Regions from separate parts of the Homo sapiens genome. Here all the other regions are linked to region 2. The links are contacts of gene promoters, found by promoter capture Hi-C in blood cells and fetal thymus (Javierre and others, 2016). All regions are on one chromosome and are shown on one strand. The core of a region is centred on a gene start or on the middle of the fragment in contact, and the rest is flanking DNA. Distances in the headings are between cores, read along the strand shown. Region 1 has its middle 50 kb from the start of PPEF2. Region 2 holds the start of ODAPH (odontogenesis associated phosphoprotein). Region 3 holds the start of LOC105377284 (a long non-coding RNA gene). Region 4 overlaps PPEF2 (protein phosphatase with EF-hand domain 2).

The links. Contacts are between HindIII fragments. The CHiCAGO score rates a contact against its expected background, and 5 or more counts as called.
Region 1: a fragment that was not itself captured here is called in contact with the fragment with the promoter of ODAPH in region 2 in 8 of 17 cell types (fetal thymus, naive CD4 T cells, activated CD4 T cells and 5 more); the score reaches 8.1 in fetal thymus.
Region 3: a contact is called between a fragment that was not itself captured here and the fragment with the promoter of ODAPH in region 2, in 6 of 17 cell types (naive CD8 T cells, activated CD4 T cells, naive CD4 T cells and 3 more). The highest score is 7.2, in naive CD8 T cells.
Region 4: a contact is called between a fragment that was not itself captured here and the fragment with the promoter of ODAPH in region 2, in 8 of 17 cell types (activated CD4 T cells, non-activated CD4 T cells, naive CD8 T cells and 5 more). The highest score is 9.5, in activated CD4 T cells.

What each region holds. Positions count from the first base shown.
Region 1 is chr4:75,850,094-75,854,905 of GRCh38, reverse strand. No RefSeq gene overlaps it. Among named protein-coding and RNA genes, the nearest start is that of PPEF2, 50 kb to the left of the region's middle. The HindIII fragment of the contact is 9,603 bases long and covers 1-4,812 here.
Region 2 is chr4:75,553,847-75,558,197 of GRCh38, reverse strand. ODAPH (odontogenesis associated phosphoprotein) reads right to left here and starts at 2,132. Exons shown (of 2, transcript NM_178497.5): 1 at 2,049-2,132. The coding sequence starts at 2,115. RefSeq lists a silencer at 2,105-2,399. The HindIII fragment of the contact is 3,725 bases long and covers 1-2,296 here.
Region 3 is chr4:75,820,459-75,824,858 of GRCh38, reverse strand. It overlaps LOC105377284 (a long non-coding RNA gene), which reads right to left and starts at 2,342. Exons shown (of 5, transcript XR_938891.2): 1 at 1,779-2,342. The HindIII fragment of the contact is 3,434 bases long and covers 644-4,077 here.
Region 4 is chr4:75,868,037-75,872,725 of GRCh38, reverse strand. PPEF2 (protein phosphatase with EF-hand domain 2) reads left to right here. Exons shown (of 17, transcript NM_006239.3): 13 at 559-701. Among named protein-coding and RNA genes, the nearest start is that of PPEF2, 32 kb to the left of the region's middle. The HindIII fragment of the contact is 6,486 bases long and covers 1-4,689 here.

The DNA of each region.
Region 1 (4,812 bases), core at 1,168-3,667, 300 kb before region 2:
TGATAACAGCCAATGTAACATGAGTGAGGTGATAACTCCTTGTGGTTTTACTTTGCATTTTTCTGATTATTAGAGACGTTTATTGGTATGTTTGAAATACTCCCCAGGTGGTGCTAATGTGCAGCCAGGCTTAGTACCGTTCATCTAATTGGTTTACCCTGCAATAATAAAGGGTGATTATTTGGTAAGACTATCCTACTGCTATCTGCACTGGTATAACCATCAATATGAGAAGTCAATTCAGAAACCAAACGTTTTCAGATTTAGATGACTAAACTGCTAAATACCCTCAAATTATATTAACAGACCCAAGAACTCTTGATGAAAACAGATTAAAACATACAAAGTTCTCCAAGAATTATTAATTTTTTAAACTGGAAATTTACTAAAATTAGTTTTTCTTTAGAAAGCTGGGACATATAAACCAGTTGAGACTTTACATTAGTACCACTCTAAAGATCTTCTCCCTTGGTTTTTACGCCTGAATACCCAACTGCTTTCTAGACATCTCCACCTACATCTCTCATGAACATCTCAAATATAACATGTTCAAATGTGACAATCTCTTCACCCCCAAACTGTTTTGGCTCCTAATTTCTGTATTTCAGGTTGGTACCCCACTTTCTATGCAGTCTGTTACCCAGGCTTAATTCCTCTACCTCTCTCACTCCCCCAGTCGCAACGGTTTCCAAATTTTGAGAATTCTGCTTCCTAAATATTCCTGATCAACTCTCTCTTCTCCATCCCCACATCCATGGCTGAAATGCACACCTTCACTGTCTCTGGCCCTCTCCTATTACAGCCTCCACTTCCTTGAGCCCCTTGCTCGGTTTGGCTCAGTCCCATCCTCTATCCTCCCCACCCTTCCCAAGCATCCAGAATGATCTATCTAAAATGCAAATTGGACTGTGTCACTTTTCAGCCTAAATCCTCTAAGTGGCTTCCCCAAACCCACAGCATAAAGTCTAAGTCTTTAATATGGAATGCCAGGCCCTTCACAAGCTGACTCCTGCCTGCGCTCCCATCTCATCCCTGCCCCTTATGCTCTAGCACAACACACTGCTCCTGATTTGGGCTTTTTGCTCACATTATTCCCCTCTCTGGCACACAGTCCCTCAGATACCAATGATCTATTTGTCTTTATCTTACTTGACCTATCAGTAGCATTTGACAGTTCAAATTACCATTCTCTCCTTTTTTTTTTTTTTAACTACCTGACAGCTTTCTCAGTCTCAGCTCACTGCAACTTCCGCCTCCCAGCTTCAAGCGATTCTCCTGCCTCAGCCTCCTGAGTAGCTGGGATTACAGATGCGTGCCACTGTGCCCGGCTAATTTTTGTATTTTTAGTAGAGACGAGGGTTTCACCATGTTGACTAGGCTAGTCTTGAACTCCCGACCTCAGATGATCCACCGACCTTGGCCTCCCAAAGTGCTGGAATTACAGGCGTGAGCCACCGCGCCCTGCCAGGCTGTTTTTCAACCTCTTTTTTCTTCTATCTTCATTCACTCCTTTGTTGATCTCATCCAGTCTCTTTTTTTTTTTTGAGACTGAGTCTCGCTCTGTCGCCCAGGCTGGAGTGCAGTGGCGCAATCTCGGCTCATTGCAGGCTCCGCCTCCCGGGTTCAAGCCATTCTCCTGCCTCAGCCTCCCGAGTAGCTGGGATTACAGGTGACCGTCACCACGCCTAGCTAATTTTTTGTATTTTTAGTAGAGACGGGGTTTCACCGTGTTAGCCACGATGGTCTCGATCTGCTGACCTCGTGATCCGCCCACCTCGGCCTCCCAAAGTGCTGGGATGACAGGCATGAGCCAACACACCCGGCCGATCTCATTCAGTCTCATTGTTTTAAATGCAATCCATATGGTTAAGACTCTGAAGGTTATATCTCCACCCGAGACAACTCCCCTAACACTTAAATATTTAATGAACATCTCAAACTCAACATTCTCCAAATAAGTTCACTATATTTCCCCTACATCTCTTCTTCCCTGGTCTTTTCTAATTAAATATCAATGCCATCCTACCAGTTCACTCAGGTGAAAGACAAAGCAAAAACTAAAACAAAACCCTTGGAATAATACTTGACTTCTCTCCTCATTTCCCACATCTGATCGATCTTGTTGACTTTCCCTTCAAAACACATCTAAAATTGAGCCGTTTTTACTCCCCATTGCTACCACCTTAAAATCATTAGTCCAGTTATTTATTAGTCCATACTATTTCTCACGTGTCCCCAATTCTTCTTTTGCCTCTATTGAAGGGCTTCTCAAATGTTTTCATCTCAGGATCCTTTTATACTCCCAAAAAGTACTGACGATCCCAAAGAACTTTTGCTGATGTGGCTTATATCTATTGATATTTACTGTATTAGAAATTAAAACTGAGAATGGCAAGGCATAGTGGCTCATGTCTGGCACTTTGGGAGGCCAGCTGATAACACATGGAGCAGAAGAATCACCCCAGTTAACTCACAGAATTGTGAAATATCATAGGTGGTTATTGTTGTTTTAAACCACTAACTTTTGAGGTATTTGTTATGTAGCAGTAGATAACTCAAAACATTGACAATCCAAGGAATTAAAGTTTAGTTGTATTAATCAAAATAGAAGGATAATTTCAGGAAGGGCTCATACTTCCCAGAAACGATCTTTTCTGAGAAAATGCTAATAGTCATAAAAGAATTTCTCTGTTTTAGCATTTTTGACATGTCTTCAAGTTGTAAATAAGTGTTTTAGGTTTTGGTTATTTATTTATTTATTTATTTATTGAGACAGTTTTCGCTCTTTTTGCCCAGGCTGGAGTGCAATGGCCCGATCTTGGCTCACTGCAACCTCCACCTCCCGGATTCAAGCGATTCTCCCTCCTGCCTCAGCCTCCTGAGTAATTGGGTTTACAGGCATGTGTCACCATGCCCAGCTAATTTTGTATTTTTAATAGAGATGGGGTTTCTCCATGTTGGTCAGGCTGGTCTCGAACTCCCAACCTCAGGTGATCCACCCGCCTTGGCCTCCCAAAGTGCTGGGATTACAGCTGTGAGCCACCGTGCCCGGCCTTGTTTTGTTTTTTTAAAAAAACAATTATTACTAATGCTGGACATAGAACTCACATGCAGACATAATTAGGGTTTCATAAATCTCTAAAGACCATTATTTTATTTTGTTTACTTATTTATTTGAGATAGAGTTTTGCTCTGTCGCCCAGGCTGGAGTGCAATGGCACAGTCTCAGCTCACTGCAACCTCTGCCTCCCGGGTTCAAGCGATTCTCCTGCCTCAGCTTCCTGAGTAGCTGAGATTACAGGCACCCACCACCACACCCAGCTACTTTATTTGTACTTTTAGTAGGGATGGGGTTTCACCATGTTGGTCAGGCCGGTCTCGAATTCCTAACGTCAGGTGATCTACCCGCCTCAGCCTCCCAAAGTGCTGGGATTACAGGCATGAGCTACTGTGTTCAGCCATAAAGACCATTATTTTAAATTTGAGTGTTTATTTCTATAGAACTCAAAACCTCCTTTAGTCTGCATTTTAATTATTAAAACAAAGGGATAAAGTTTTTAATCCCTGTGTTAGTGTCTTGAAATATTTCTCAGTCACAGACTCAGAGACTGTTAAGAATTATAAGGAATTTCAGATATTAAGTACAACCTCTAAAGCATTTCTCTGGAGAAAAACCTCGAAAGATACACGTGTCCTCCAGGCTTTGTGGAAATGCTCCAGGGTAGAGGTCACTGCTCCTACAGGCAGCCTAGTTCTGTATGTGGAGAGATATATGAATTAGAAAGGTTTTTTTCTGTTAACTTTTATACCAGGCATCGGCCTGGTATAAGAATGTGGAGTCAGAAGATTTGGATTTCAGTTCCTGGCTGTAGGATCTAGGTTATCTGAGCTACAGTGGCCACCCTGAGCTTCTGCGACTCTGCTTTTCAGGAGCAGGGGGAAGCTCTACCTACCTACATCAGTGTGTCGAGATTTCTGGGGGCGTGGGGGGATGGGTGGGGGAGATGCTGATTAACATACACAAAAAGACACAGAATTGTCATTGACATAACCCTCATCTTAGTCTTAAACTAAATGATACAGAGCTGAATCTCTTTATTACTATTGATTGATCATAAACTGGTTTATTTTTCTCACAGATGAAGATAATTTTAGACATGATTTTTTTGTAAACAGATTAGTTATTAGATTTCATTTTAATTTTTTTAACTCTTTTTTTAAAGACAAAGTCTCGCTCTTGTCCCCCAGGCTGGAGTGCAATGGTGCAAACTCGGCTTACTGCAGCCTCCGCCTCCCGGGTTCAGAGCTCCCGAGTAGCTGGGATTACAGGCGCCTGCCACCACGCCTGGCTAATTTTTGTATTTTTAGTAGAGATGGAGTTTCACCATGTTGGCCAGACTGGTCTCGAACTCCTCACCTCAGGTGATCCGCCCACCTCGGCCTCCCAGAGTGCAGGGATTACAGGCGTGAGCCACTGCACCCGGCCTAGATTTCATTTTAATTTTTGAACTGTTTTAAACACACTTGGTTTTTTTTTTCTGTTCTGTAAATTAATTTTTATGGTTCTATTTATGGCAAATGATATTGATTTCTCTATTACAGTATTGAGGTAATACTATCTTTTTTTTTTTTTTTTTTTTTTTTTTTTTTTTTTGAGACGGAGGACGGAGTCTCAATCTGTTTCCCAGGCTGGAGTGCAGTGGTGTGATCTCAGCTCACTGCAACCTCCGCCTCCCGGGTTCAAGCGATTCTCCTGCCTCAGCCTCCTGAGTAGCTGAGATTACAGGCGTGTGCCATCACACCTGGCTAATT
Region 2 (4,351 bases), core at 883-3,382:
TCAATTCTATGCTGTGAGTCAAGTTGTTTCAACAGGTACAGGTTACTACATTAGGGGCTCTGGCAAACGCAGAGATGATTAAGATTAAGAGCCTGAGCTCAAGGAGTGGGCAGATGCTATGAAGCCAGGGATCTGCAGCAGAGAGCAGATGCCATACGTGCCGTAGGTGATGCACAAATAGCTGTAAGAATTCAAAGGTGTCAGAAAGAGAAACTGCAATTTTAAAATTATTATGTCTTAACAAAGACTTTGTCAAGGCAAAATCATAGTGGCATTTAAATGTTGTGCCTTAAAGCGGAACTGCAACAAACAGAGGTGAAAGCAAGTGGAGGGAGCAGCTGTGGTTGCTGCCGTGCATCAGTGAGAAGAGGATGAGTATGGAGATCCACACATGACCTTGTCGGGCAGACCCAGGGTGTGTGTGAACGAGCGATGAACTGGAAGCAGGGGCTGCTGGGATAGAATGAAGCTACATTTGAAGGACTTCGAGGGATTGTAGGGAAAAGTGAGCCAAATTCGGAAATCAAATCTGGTGTTTCAATGGGTGTTTTGTTTTTTGAGACAGAGTTTCACTCTTGTTCCCCAGGCTGGAGTGCAATGGCACGATCTTGGCTCATGGCAACCTCCACCTCCTGGGTTCAAGCGATTCTCCTGCCTCAGCCTCCCGAGTAGCTGGGATTACAGGCATGCACCACCACACCTGGCTAATTTTGTATTTTTTGTAGAGATGGGGTTTCTCCATGTTGGTCAGGCTGGTTTTGAACTCCCGACCTCAGGTGATCTGCCCACCTCGGCCTCCCAAAATGCTGGGATTACAGGTGTGAGCCACTGTACCCAGCCTCAGTGGGTGTTTTTAAGATGTGAATAAAATAAATCTCTAATCTCATTATAACTTGTTTAGCTATGTGTTTACAAAGCCTCCTGAAGAGCGGTTCACTTTTTGCAGAGAAAGTGGCAGGTGGCTAGTTTTGTTTTATGATGCTTCTTTTAGATGTCACTTTTAGTAGGTGAGGCTTGGGGGCCTTGCCTTGGGATATGGGGGCAGGTTTTGTTCATAATCTATGCCCTGTCCCCTGATTGCCAGAGTGTGTGCAGAGGTTGGATCAGGGGGTTTCTGAGTGTTCCACAACCAGCTCTTATGTCTCTCCCCTCCTCCTGTCTATTGTGAGCTCTGAGGGATGGGAACGGGGAATCTGTCTGGGGATGAGCAGGGTTTGGCTGAGCCCCTGCAAAGCCCCCTACCCAAGACATGTGAAAGGGGTGAAGTGCTCTGTTTGACTCCTAGGTCCATCTTCCGTAAACAGCATCTAGTTTTGGAATTAAAATAAACTGAAGAAAAGGTTAGATCTAGGCTCCCCAAGATTTCCTCCCCTTGTATTTCCCTCTTTTCATCCCTTCCCCAGCCTTTTCTTTCCTTTTCCTAGGGGTTTGCAAACCAATTGTAAGGCTCAGGACACATTTTGTAGTGGGAACAAAGAAAGAGAATAGGAACAGTTGAGAAATGGAATCTAATAAAATCCTAAAGAAAGAAACCTGTGCCCACCTCTGTGGCACCAAAATGCAGCTCAATAGATGTGATTAATTAAAGCAATGAACAAAGACTAAATACCCACCATGTGCAAATTAATATGCTGCTGGAGATAGAAAGTGGACAGTGCTGTAATTCAAAGTGGAATTGTTAGCTTTGTAACCATAATAACTAGTATTTGTACAGTGTTTTTAGCTTGAAGAGTTTTTCACAGATGATAGCTCATTTGGTCCTTGCAAACCCCATAACGATGGATATTGTTAATGTTGTCACTTCACATATGAGGAATCTGATACTCAGAGATTTTAAGTGTGTCTAAAGTCACAGAGCTATTGCTGAGACGAGGACCAAGGTCTTCAGGTGACAAAATCCAACTTCCTTCTCTTTAACCACACAGGCTGATGGAAGCTGAGGTAAATATTTCCAATTTATGGGAACGTATAATCATGGAGCCAGTTTTGTCTTTTCCTACAACTTATTAATTAGTGGACCCACAGTAGAATAAAAGCAAAACCCTTACCTTCTGCCACAGTTACCACCAACCAGCATACCAGTAACCAGTAGGAGAAGCAGTGTCTGCGAGCCATGGCTTCTACTGAGCAGTCACTGCGTTGAACCTGATGTTGCTTTAAAGGGGAGCTGGTGAGTCACCAGCAGCCTGATTCAGGTAATTTGCATTTGCACAGTGGACCACAGAGATCAGGGCTTGCGGTGTGAGGGTAAGAAATCAGCAAGGAAATACCAGACAGTATTTGTCAACCAGAAGCTTCTTGGAATGACAGCCAGATATCAATCATCTCCCCCCAGAGGGGGATTTTGGACAACCGCACCTTCACCATCCTTCTAATCTCTCAAATCTTCTCCCATGTTAGTGCCTTTTAGTTGTGTATATCAGTCTTCCTCTGCAAGAGAAATAAGCTGTCCAGAAATATGCAACAGTGCTTCTCTCTGTGCAGCTTACCTACTTAAAAAGCGAAACAAGAGGGAGAGGGCATTACCCGGAGGCTTCCTGACCCCGGTGGTTTGCAGTGGAGAGTTGGGGATCATTCTTAGGCCCCCAACCAGGGTTTATGCTGCTTCTCTGCTCTGCTTTTGTCCAGGAGGTGAGGGCAGCAGAATCAGAAAGTGATCTTCCCTAGTGGTCATGATGGTCACTGTCTAAACAAACATAAACATTGGGAGAGTAACTTAGTGAGTCGTCCTTTCACGGCTCCTCCTGATTCACCATATTGCATATAAAATGGACATGACATGTCTATGTCCAGTTGGTTTCCTGAGAGAAAGACTTCATCAGCTGCTGGATATATGAGAGGGGATTGTCACAGGTGATTAAGAACATGGACCTTGGAGTCAGGTAAAATTCCAGTCTTTGTTCCTTTTCTTACTAGCTGAGTGACTGTGGTGAGTCCCTGAGACTTGCTGAAGCCTCAGGGGCCTCACCTGTAAAATGGGACTTGTGGTACTACCCTCAGAGGAATTTGTGAATTAAGGAGATGCTTTTAAAAAAAATTTTTTTTAAATTTCAATCTTTTGGGGTACGAGTGGTTTTGGGTTACATGGATGGACTCTATGGTGGCGAACTCTGAGATTTTAGTGCACTCGTCACCCGAGCAGTGTACACTGCACCCAATATGTAGTCTTTTATCCCTCACCTCCTTCCCAACCTCCCCCACCCCTAGCCTCTAAAGTCCATTATATCATTCTGTATGTCTTTGTGTCCTCATAGCTCAGCTCCCACGTATAAGTGAGAACATACGATATTTGGTTTTCCATTCCTGAGTTACTTAACTTGGAATAATGGCCTCCAGCTCCATCCAAGTTGCTGCAAAAGACATTATTTCATTTTTTTATGGCTGAGTAGTATTCCATGGTGTATTTCTACCACATTTTCTTTATCCACTCGTTGGTCGATGGCCACTTAGTTGGTTTCATATCAAGGAGATAATTGACATACAGCTCCAACCACAGTGCCTGGCCTGTGAAAGGGAGTGTTTGTGATTGTCATTAAATTATAATAATCCCAACTGATAATTTATTCTCTTAGGAGGCTGTACTTGCCAAATCAGTTAATCACTGGAAAGACCTCCACTTTAAGCAGAACATTTTCCTGGGTATCATGGAAAAAAAAAAAAAAAAAAAAAAAGAACAAACTAAACATGGTCCCTGTCTTTGAAGGACTGACAATCTAACAAGAGAGGCTGTGCAAACTGAAAGTCTAAATGAATAAGGATGCAAACACTCACAGATAGAAAATGGAAAGTTCCTCAGGCTTGATGTTAGTCCTAGGCAAACTTCCAGAACAGATAATCAGATGGATGATTTGTCAGCAGTTTGAAAAGGAATCAGGAAACATCCAGGACAAATTGAGTTCCTTAGACTACCCATTCATTCAATAATTCTGTATTGACTTTTATTTATTCAGTGTCAGACACTGGTCAAGGTGCTGGGGCTAAAGATAAGATTCCTGCTCTCATGGAACTTATAGTTTAGGAGACATTAAAAATTAACTCAGGAATAACAATAAAGCGTTTTGAGTGCTAAGAGAGGGGAAGGACTGAAGGCTATGGGAGAACGAAGCAGACAAACACAGTCTGTAATTTTACATCAACGGGTCAGTATCACATATGCTACTTTGTCCCCTGCATTGTAAATACACCACAATGCCAATAGAATTAGATTCACATAATCACTTCAGCCACTGCCTGGTGTTTCATTTTATAGATTTACTGTAATTTATTTAACCAAACTTTTAACTGATGGACATTTCTATTACTTCTTCTGATTCTCTTTCTTTTTTGTTTTGGAGTGCTAATGAGCTTTCAT
Region 3 (4,400 bases), core at 1,111-3,610, 270 kb before region 2:
TATATATTATATATATAGATATATATATTATATATATCTATATATAGATATATATATTATATATATCTATATATAGATATATATTTTTTTGACAACGTCTCACACTGTTTTCCAGGCTGGAGTGCAGTGACATGACCATGGCTCACTGTAACCTCAAAATCCTGGGCTCAAGCAATCCTCTTGCTTCAGCCTCCTAAGTAGCTGAGACTACAGGCATGCCCCACCACACCCGGCTAATTTTTGTACTGTTAGTAGAGACAGGGTTTTGCCATGTTGGCCAGGCTGGTCTTGAACTCCTGACCTCAAGTGATCAACCTGCCTTGGCCTCCCAAAGTGCTGGGATTACAGGCATGAGTCACCATGACCGGCCCCAAACAAACATTTAAAGGAAAAAAAACCCCTCAAAGTTACCAAGATTATAATAGTTACATTGGCCAGCTTGTGGTGGGGAAACAGCACCATTCCCACATGATTAGCATTGTCACAAAGGTTATGATGTGTCTTCAGACATTCCTTAGCAAAAATCAGAGGTAAAATTATTTTGGTTAGGGAGTTTAGTTTTACAAGAAATAAGTCAAGGTTTTCTTATTTTAGAGATCAGAACTAGTCGGGGTGGTTTTGGTTTATCTCAGGGTGCAAAGCTTTGTTTGTCCTGAATTTGATTTGTAAAGTGCTCAATCATGTTGGAAACAGGGTGAAGTATCAGCTTTTGCTTCTACAAGTTATAAGGTACAAGCACAGCAGCCAGGGCCCATCCCCATGAAAGGAAACAGTTAAGGAGGTCCCTCTGCACCAGACAGGCTTCCAGAAGAAAGTGCTTGCCACTGGCTGGACATGCTAAGCCTGGTTAAGCCTAACGACATAGCCATAGACTTCTATACTGCAGATTCCTGAGTCTCCGTGTTTGACCACTGCTTTTCATAAAGCATTTTCATGCCTGTTCATACAGCCAATCCCCTCATAGCCTGTGAGAATAGTTAACACTTATGAAGCACTTCCTCTATGTGCCAAACAGTTAATGAACCTTTGTTAAGCACCAGGCACTATTCTAACAATGTTGCATGTCAACTGTTAATCCACTTAATTCTCATACTATTCCTGTGAAGGTAAGGTATGATGATTGTCCCTGTGTTATGGATAATAAAATTGAAGTAATTTGCCCAAAGTCACACAGTTTGAAAGTGGTGGAGTTGGAATTTGATCCAAGGTATTCCAGCTCCACAGTCCATACTTTTAACCATTGTCCTAAGTGGCCTCTCCAGAAATGAGTGTTATTCTAATTTTACAGACGAAGGAATAAGCGGTTTGCAGAAATTATGTAACTTGCTCAAAGTCACTATTAGAATTATAATGCAGCCGGGCACGCTGGCTCACGCCTGTAATCCCAGCACTTTGGGAGGCCAAGGTGGGCGGATCACAAGGTCAGGAGCTCGAGACCAGCCTGACCAACATGGTGAAATCCCATCTCTACTAAAAATACAAAAAAAATTAGCTGGGCATGGTGGCGCGCACCTGTAATCCCAGCTACTCTGGAGGCTGAGGCAGGAGAATCGCTGGAACCCAGCAGGAGGTTGCAGTGAGCCTAGATCACGCCATTGCACTTCAGCCTGGGCGACAGAGCAAGACTCCATCTTAAAAAAAAAAAAAAAGAATTATAATGCTGAGATTTTATATTAGGTCTTTTGACTTCCCACCAGGTTTCCTTCAATAATGACAGGAGCAATAACAAAGTTAACACTTTCATATAGGGCTTACCATGTACTATGCACTTTACTTACATGGGCTCATTTCATCCACAGCTCTGTGGCATTCGTATTATTATTACTGCCAGTTTACATGAAGAAGTTGAGGCACAGAGAGGTTAAATAACTTGCCCAAAGCCACACAGCTGGAAAATGGCAGAGTAAGGATTTGAACTCAGGCAGTCTGTTCTCAGAATCTACACTCTTAATTATGACATCACACAGCCTCTCCATGCTGTACACTTGTGTTTCTCAGGGGGAACCAGTAAGGGAAAAGAGGAAAGGGAAGGACACTAACATTTACTGGTTATGCTTCTGTATCCTCTCATAGATTATATTATTGTTGACATTTTCACTGCCCCTCTATATCAGATGTGTCCTTATGGGATTATGCTTTGCATTGATATTAGTTTGGACATGACTTGCTTTGGCCAATGACATGTGAATGGAAATGTTGCCACTTCAAAGCAGAAGTTATAAATGCCACTGTGAGATTCTGCCATCTCTCGTTTGCCTCTGTCACAAGACCTGCCTTTCCCAGAGAGAAGTTGCTGCTTTTTTTTGAGACAGGGTTTCACTCTGTTGCCCAGGCTGGAATGTAACGGCACGATCTCTGCTCATTGCAATCTCTGCCTCCTGGTCCCAAGCGATCCTCCCACCTTAGCCTCCTGAGTAGCTGGGACTATCGGCATGTGCCACCACTCCTGGCTAATTTTTGTATTTTTTTTTTGTAGAGATGGGGGTTTTGCCATGTTGGCCAGGCTGGTCTCCAATTCCTGGGCTCAAGCGATACACCTGCCTCACCTTCCCAAAGTGCTGGGATTACAGGCACGAGGCACTATACCCAGCCAGAAGCTGCTTCTTCAGTGTTGGTCTTGAAATGAAGATTTGGAGCAGAGCCACAGCTGGCATGCCAAAGATATGAATGTGTACAAGAAGTACCTTTGGGTAAGCCACTGAAATTTAAGACTTGTTTGTTTCTACAGCATAACTCAGCCTAAGCAGACTTTTATGTGTGTATTAAAAGTTTAAGGCTGGGCGTGGTGGCTCATGCCTGTAATCCCAGCCCTTCGGGAGGCTGAGGCAGGTGGATCACTTGAGGTCAGGAGTTCGAGACCAACCTGGCCAACATGGTGAAACCCACTCTTAGGCCAGACGTGGTGGCTCACGCCTGTAATCCCAGCACTTTGGGAGGCTGAGGCGGGCAGATCACGAGGTCAGGAGATCGAAACCATCCTGGTTAACATGGTGAAACCCCATCTCTACTAAAAATACAAAAAATTAGCCAGGCGTGGTGGCCGGCGCCTGTAGTCCCAGCTACTCGGGAGGCTGAAGCAGGAGAATGGCGTGAACCTGGGAGGCGGAGCTTGCAGTGAGCCGAGATCGTGCCACTGCACTCCAGCCTGGGCAACAGAGCTTCTGTCTCAAAAAAGAAAAAAGAAATTCAATAATTTTAATCTTCACAATAACCCTATTAGGTAGGTATAATTAGCTCCAGGAAGAAACTAAGATTCTTAGAGGTTTTGTAATTCGCTCAGAAATTTAAAAGTGTAGGAGCAAGGGTTTAGGTTTCCTTCTTCCTAACATAACCCTTGTTTTGTTTATGTATCTATCACCCACCCCGAGAAGTGTGCTTTAAGAGGTGCTGCCCACTCACCTACTACACACCAGGAACGTGAGTGACTAACTGCAATTAGTCAAGGCAATCATGGTGGTTTCATTCCCTTTGACAGTAATAGGTTTGCCAGTAAATGGGTCTGTGAGCCAATTATGACCATAAAACAGGAAGATGCAAATTGAGGATCTGAATGCCAATCCTGCTTCAAATACAATTCTGTCCCTATCAGCACCAGTCACAGGTTTTGGTTGCCAGTAAAACTCATATGATATAACAGACTTCATTCTAATACTTCATTTGTTAACTTTATAGAGTGATACAATACAGGAATACGGAGTGCATAGTATCTTCATGTCGTCTGGAGGCTCAGAGACTACTATGTATACATTTTCTTGGCCTCCATCACCTTTCTAGGGTGTGTATAGCTCCTGAGGAAGATTGAAGTGCCCGGCTTCACTTGGTAGGTCTCTCATCAGTTGTCTGTCTGGGTGCCAACTCATAGCTCTCCCAGTTCACGTGGAGATCCACAGATAGGGGATTTCACAGCAAACAAGGCAGGTAGTCAGTTCCTAGCACAAAGCATTCCTCAACTAGCTTAACTTGGTAGTTGCCAAGGGAACAGTGCTGTGAGAAGGCAGACCCAAGGTCACCTTCCCAGGTAGACCTAAACATGTTCAGAGATGTTAACCCTTACTGATAGGCAGTCGGCTGGAAGCTTCAAGAAAAGATTTCCAGGCCCTCAAAAAGAGACACAGACAATAAAGTCTCACTCCTCTGGACATTTTTGTGTCTGAAGTTGATGCTTGGAACTACATTTTCCTGGCCCATTCAGTTTCCCACACTCCACTCTAAGACATCTATCTTTATAATATCTCCACTTTCATCAAATTTCTTCCCCAGTTCTTACTTTCAATGGGTATCTTGCTTCCTGTTTAAATTAGAAAATGGAAGCAATGAGATAAAATTTTGACACATTCCCACCACCACAGACCCATCAATTTCCTTTTTAATCCATATTCTCCACCTTCTCTCCTGTTACT
Region 4 (4,689 bases), core at 1,106-3,605, 310 kb before region 2:
AATACCACTGGTTATATTGTACAAGTTTCTTTATTGCAGGACTTCTGAGTACCTTTAGTTTCCTACCACTGTAAATCCTCAGGAAGAGATACAGTATCTAGCATTTCCCAACGTATTGACTGTGAAAACTTTTTTCATACACCATCTGAGGAGCCACAACATTCCGTAGAAAACTGCTTTAAGGCACCACATCAGCTCTCAGAACTCATCTTCTTGCTCATTGTAATGGCCATCCTGGTTTATCAGACCCAGCTTGCCTCTAAGTTGAAGCAAATATGGTGTTTTCTATGACCCTTGCTATTTTCACTTGGGATAAAAATGTGAAGAAGATACATTGTGAAACTATCGGAATTCAAATTTCTATGACTTGAGTCACAACTCTTGCCCTATTAGCATTGATGCCTTTAGAAAAAAAGAAAGAAAGAAAGAAAGAAAAGGATTCCCAGATGAGCACTAGGAGAAACAGCAGCTTCTGCAGTTGAGTTGGGCCACATAGGATTGAGGGTGAAGGTTTCTTCAGTGAATGTGAACACCTGTCTCTCTTCTGTTTTGATGTAGGTATTAACAATCTTTTCTGCCTCCAACTACTATGAAGTTGGCAGCAACAGAGGGGCCTATGTCAAACTGGGGCCAGCCCTGACCCCACATATTGTGCAGTATCAAGCTAACAAGGTGACCCACACACTCACCATGAGGCAAAGGCAAGACTTTTCAATGAGTGATTTTCAGAAAAAAAAATTATAGTGTTCATAGAATCTTTGAATGAAGTGTCAAACGTTATATTTATTCAAATTCTACGTGAGAATTCAGAATTTGGCTATGTCAGCATGAAGTTCTATTAATACAATAGACATTAGAGTAGGAGTCTCTTCCTTCTCCTCCACACACTCCTAATAGCTCTATCTACCCATCATTAATGGGAGCAACAAATTTGTTTTCTGCAGAAATTATTCTCAGTGGGGCACAGTGGCTCATGCCTGTAATCCCAGCAGTCTGGCAGACTAAGGCAGAAGGATAGTTTGAGCCCAGGAATTCCAGACCAGCCTGGGCAACATGGCAAAACCCCATCTCTACAAAAAATTCAAAAATTAGCCTGATGTGGTGGCGTACTCTTGTAGTCCCAGCTACTTGGGAGGCTGAGGTGGGAGGATGGCTTGAGCTTGGGAGGTAGAGTTTGCAGTGAGCCAAGATTGTGCCACTGCCCTCCAGCCTGGGTGACAGAGCAAGGCTGTCTCAAAAAAACAAGAAAAACAAAAAGAAGAAGAAGAAATTATTCTCCATGGCTGCGTCTTGGGTAAAGTCTGCTTACTAAACCACTAAGTCTTTCTGAGGTTACTCTTCTATTTTCTCTCATCTTTAACGGGTTTGTGTTACCCCTACAAGCCACAGCCAGAGGTTCTTTCACTGTCTGGAGATTTTGCAGGTGAAATTCAGTGCACAGATTTGTTAATGAGGCCCGTTTCTTTCTGGAAGGAAGCATATAATACTACTCGAATGGTAGATTTTGGCCGGGCGCGGTGGCTCACGCCTGTAATCCCAGCACTTTGGGAGGCTGAGGCGGGTGGATGATTGGAGGTCAGGAGTTTGAGACTGGCCTGGCCAACATGGTGAAACCCTGTCTCTACTAAAAATACAAAAAAATTAGCCAGGCGTGGTGGTACACGCCTGTAATCCCAGCTACACGGGAAGCTGAGGCAGGAGAATTGCTGGAACCCAGGAGGTTGGAGGTTGCAGTGACCCGAGATCGCACCACTGCACTCCAGCCTGGGCGACAGAGCAAGCCTCCATCTCAAAAATAAAATAAAATAAAGTAAAATAAAAATAAATAAATAAATAAATAAATAAATGGTAGCTTTTGAGATGATTCTGAGTTCTTAGTTGAGAGATTACAACCACAAAATGTTATAAAGAATTTATATGGGTAGCCTCACAGTAAATTTATGCAACAGATATTGTTATTAATTTCAGTTTTGTAGAAGAGATTATTAAAGAACCGATGTTAAATCATCTGACCTGTGGTCACACAGCTAGTCCTTGAGTGAAGGTAGTCCTTGACCGAGGCAATTCTATTTCAGAACCCACACTTTTAATGTCTATGCAATATTGCCTCCTACAACGAAGATGGCCTCAGAGTATATAAGATGCTAACAGATACAGTTTTAGTGCTATTGAACATGCTTCTTTAAGTATTCAGCCTAACAGAGTTAGAAATTAAGATCGGCAAAACTAGCATAAATCAGGTGGATAGAGAACATGTTAGTATTTAGCATTTACCCTTGTGTGAGTGCTGTAAAAGTGCATTATTTTAAATCATTCTCAAGTTATTAAATATAGGCCAGCCTCACTTAAAAAGAAGAATTATGTAAAAATATAAACCTACCAAGTGAATGTCAGACCTACTGTGCAGCAAAATCATCTTGGAGCTTTATAAAAAATCAGCCATTTGAGCCTCATCCAGCCCTACCAAATTAGAATCTCCAGGGGTGAGCCCTGGTACCTGGAGTGCAGAACTATGATCCCATAGGATTTAGGGGTTGTCACTGCAAAAAGAGTCACTCTAGGATTCCCTACAGTAGTAATAGTAATGTAGTAATGTAATAGTAATGTAGGATTCCCTACAGTGAATAGTGTGTTTCAATAAGATAGTCAAAAAGCATTCAACTCTTTGAAACCTTCATTGATTGCATTAAATAAGTACAACATCACCTGATTTACCCAGAAATCACTTATCCAGTGACTTCAACTGTATGAAGCATAATGGAGAACTTAGAAAAAAGGAGGGAAATGTCTCTGAGCAGCCATAATTGATGATGTCTCAATGTCCATAAACCGAAGATAACATCCTTGTTTTTCTTTTTTCTTTTTTTTTTTCTTTTTGTGAGACAGGGTCTCGCTGTGTCACCCAGGCTGTAGTACAGTGGCAGGATGACAGATCACTGCAGCCTCGACCTGCTAGTCTTAAGAGATCCTCCCACTTCAGCTACCTCACACCTGGTACTACAGGCGTGCGCCATCATGCCCAGCTAATTTTTTAAATTTTTTGTAGAGACGAAGTCTCACTATTCTGCCCAGGCTGGTCTCAAACTCCTGAGCTCAAGTGATCCTCCTGCCTTGGCCTCCCAAAGTGCTAGGATTACAGGTGCGAGCCACCATGCCTGGCCTGATAACATGCTCTTCTTAGAGGAATCCTCAGTCAGAGTCCATTTACTTTTTGTTTCAATCCACTTCTCACAATAATAGAGAGCCAGCTTGGAGCCAGCATAGCCAGATAGGTATCTGGCCTCACTCCTTGGTAGCTATGTGACCTCGACCTAATTACTATCTCTGTCTGTAATGGGCATAATGGACTTCATGTTATCGTTCTTTCTTCAATGAGTGTTGAGGGATTTAATGAGATAATCCATGTAGAGCTCTGCATTTAGTAAGTGCTTACTAAGTGTTACTTGACGTAGGGACAGGAAAGCCTTGTACATCCAGATAGCTTTCAAGGGCATTGCCCTACTCCATCCCTGCATAACTCTCCATGACTACAGATTACCAGGAGCAGCTTAAATGCTTTGTCTAACTAGTGGTTCTTAAACTTTTTAGGAGTCCCATACTTCTGTTAGCCTCTGATAAAACAACAAACTGTCTACAAAAAATTCACATATGCTCACATACCTGTGAAATTTGGGGTGAGTTTTAGGTGGTTCACACTTTCTTTTCCTTTTGTAGAGACAGGGCCTTGCTCTGTCACCAAGGCCAGGGTATAGTAGCATGATCATAGATAGCTTACTGTAACCTCGAACTCCTGGGCTCAAGCAATCCTCCTGCCATAGTCTCCCAAGTAACTGAGATTACAGGCATGCACCACCATGCCTGGCTAATTTTTAAAAGTTTTTTTTGTAAAGAAACCCAGCCTAGCTGTGTTGCCCAGGGTGGTCTTGAGCTCCTGGCCTCAAGTGATCCTCCCGCTTCAGCCTCCCAAAGTGCTGGGATTATAGGCATGAGCCACCATGCCTAACTGGTTCACAGTTTTTTGTGTTTTTTGAGACAGGGTCTCATTCTGGTTGTCCAGGCTGGAGTGCAGTGGCATGATCTTGGCTCACTGCAGCCTCGACCTCCCAGGCTCAGGTGATTTCCCCACCTTAGCTTCCCAAGTAGCTGGGACCATAGGCACGTGCCACCATGCCAGGCTAGGTTCACACTCTTCTAAGGATCTATGTAGCCCACTTAAAGACTGTCATGTTAAATGCCTTCAATTGCAGTAAGATTTTCATCAAACATGATTTAATTTTTTTTAACTTTTAACACGGGAAAAGATAGGTTATCTGGTCATTATTTATAGAATGATTGGTTCCTCAATAAGACATTACAAGTAACGTATGCTTACCTTTTATCTCTTTTTATATTCTTTTTTTTTTTTTTTTTGAGACAGGGTCTTACTTTTTCACCCAGGCTGGAGTGCAGTGGTGTGATCTTGGCTCACTGCAGCCTCTACCTCCTGGGTTCAAGTGATCCTCCCACCTCAGCCCCACAAGCATCTGGGACTACAGGGACACGCCACCACGCCTGGCTAATTTTTTTTTTGTACTTTGAGTAGAGAGGGGGGTTTTGCCATGTTGCCAAGGCTGGTCTCGAACTCCTGGGCTCAAGGAATCCACCCACCTTGGCCTCCCAGAGTGCTGGGATTACAGGCATGAGCCACCA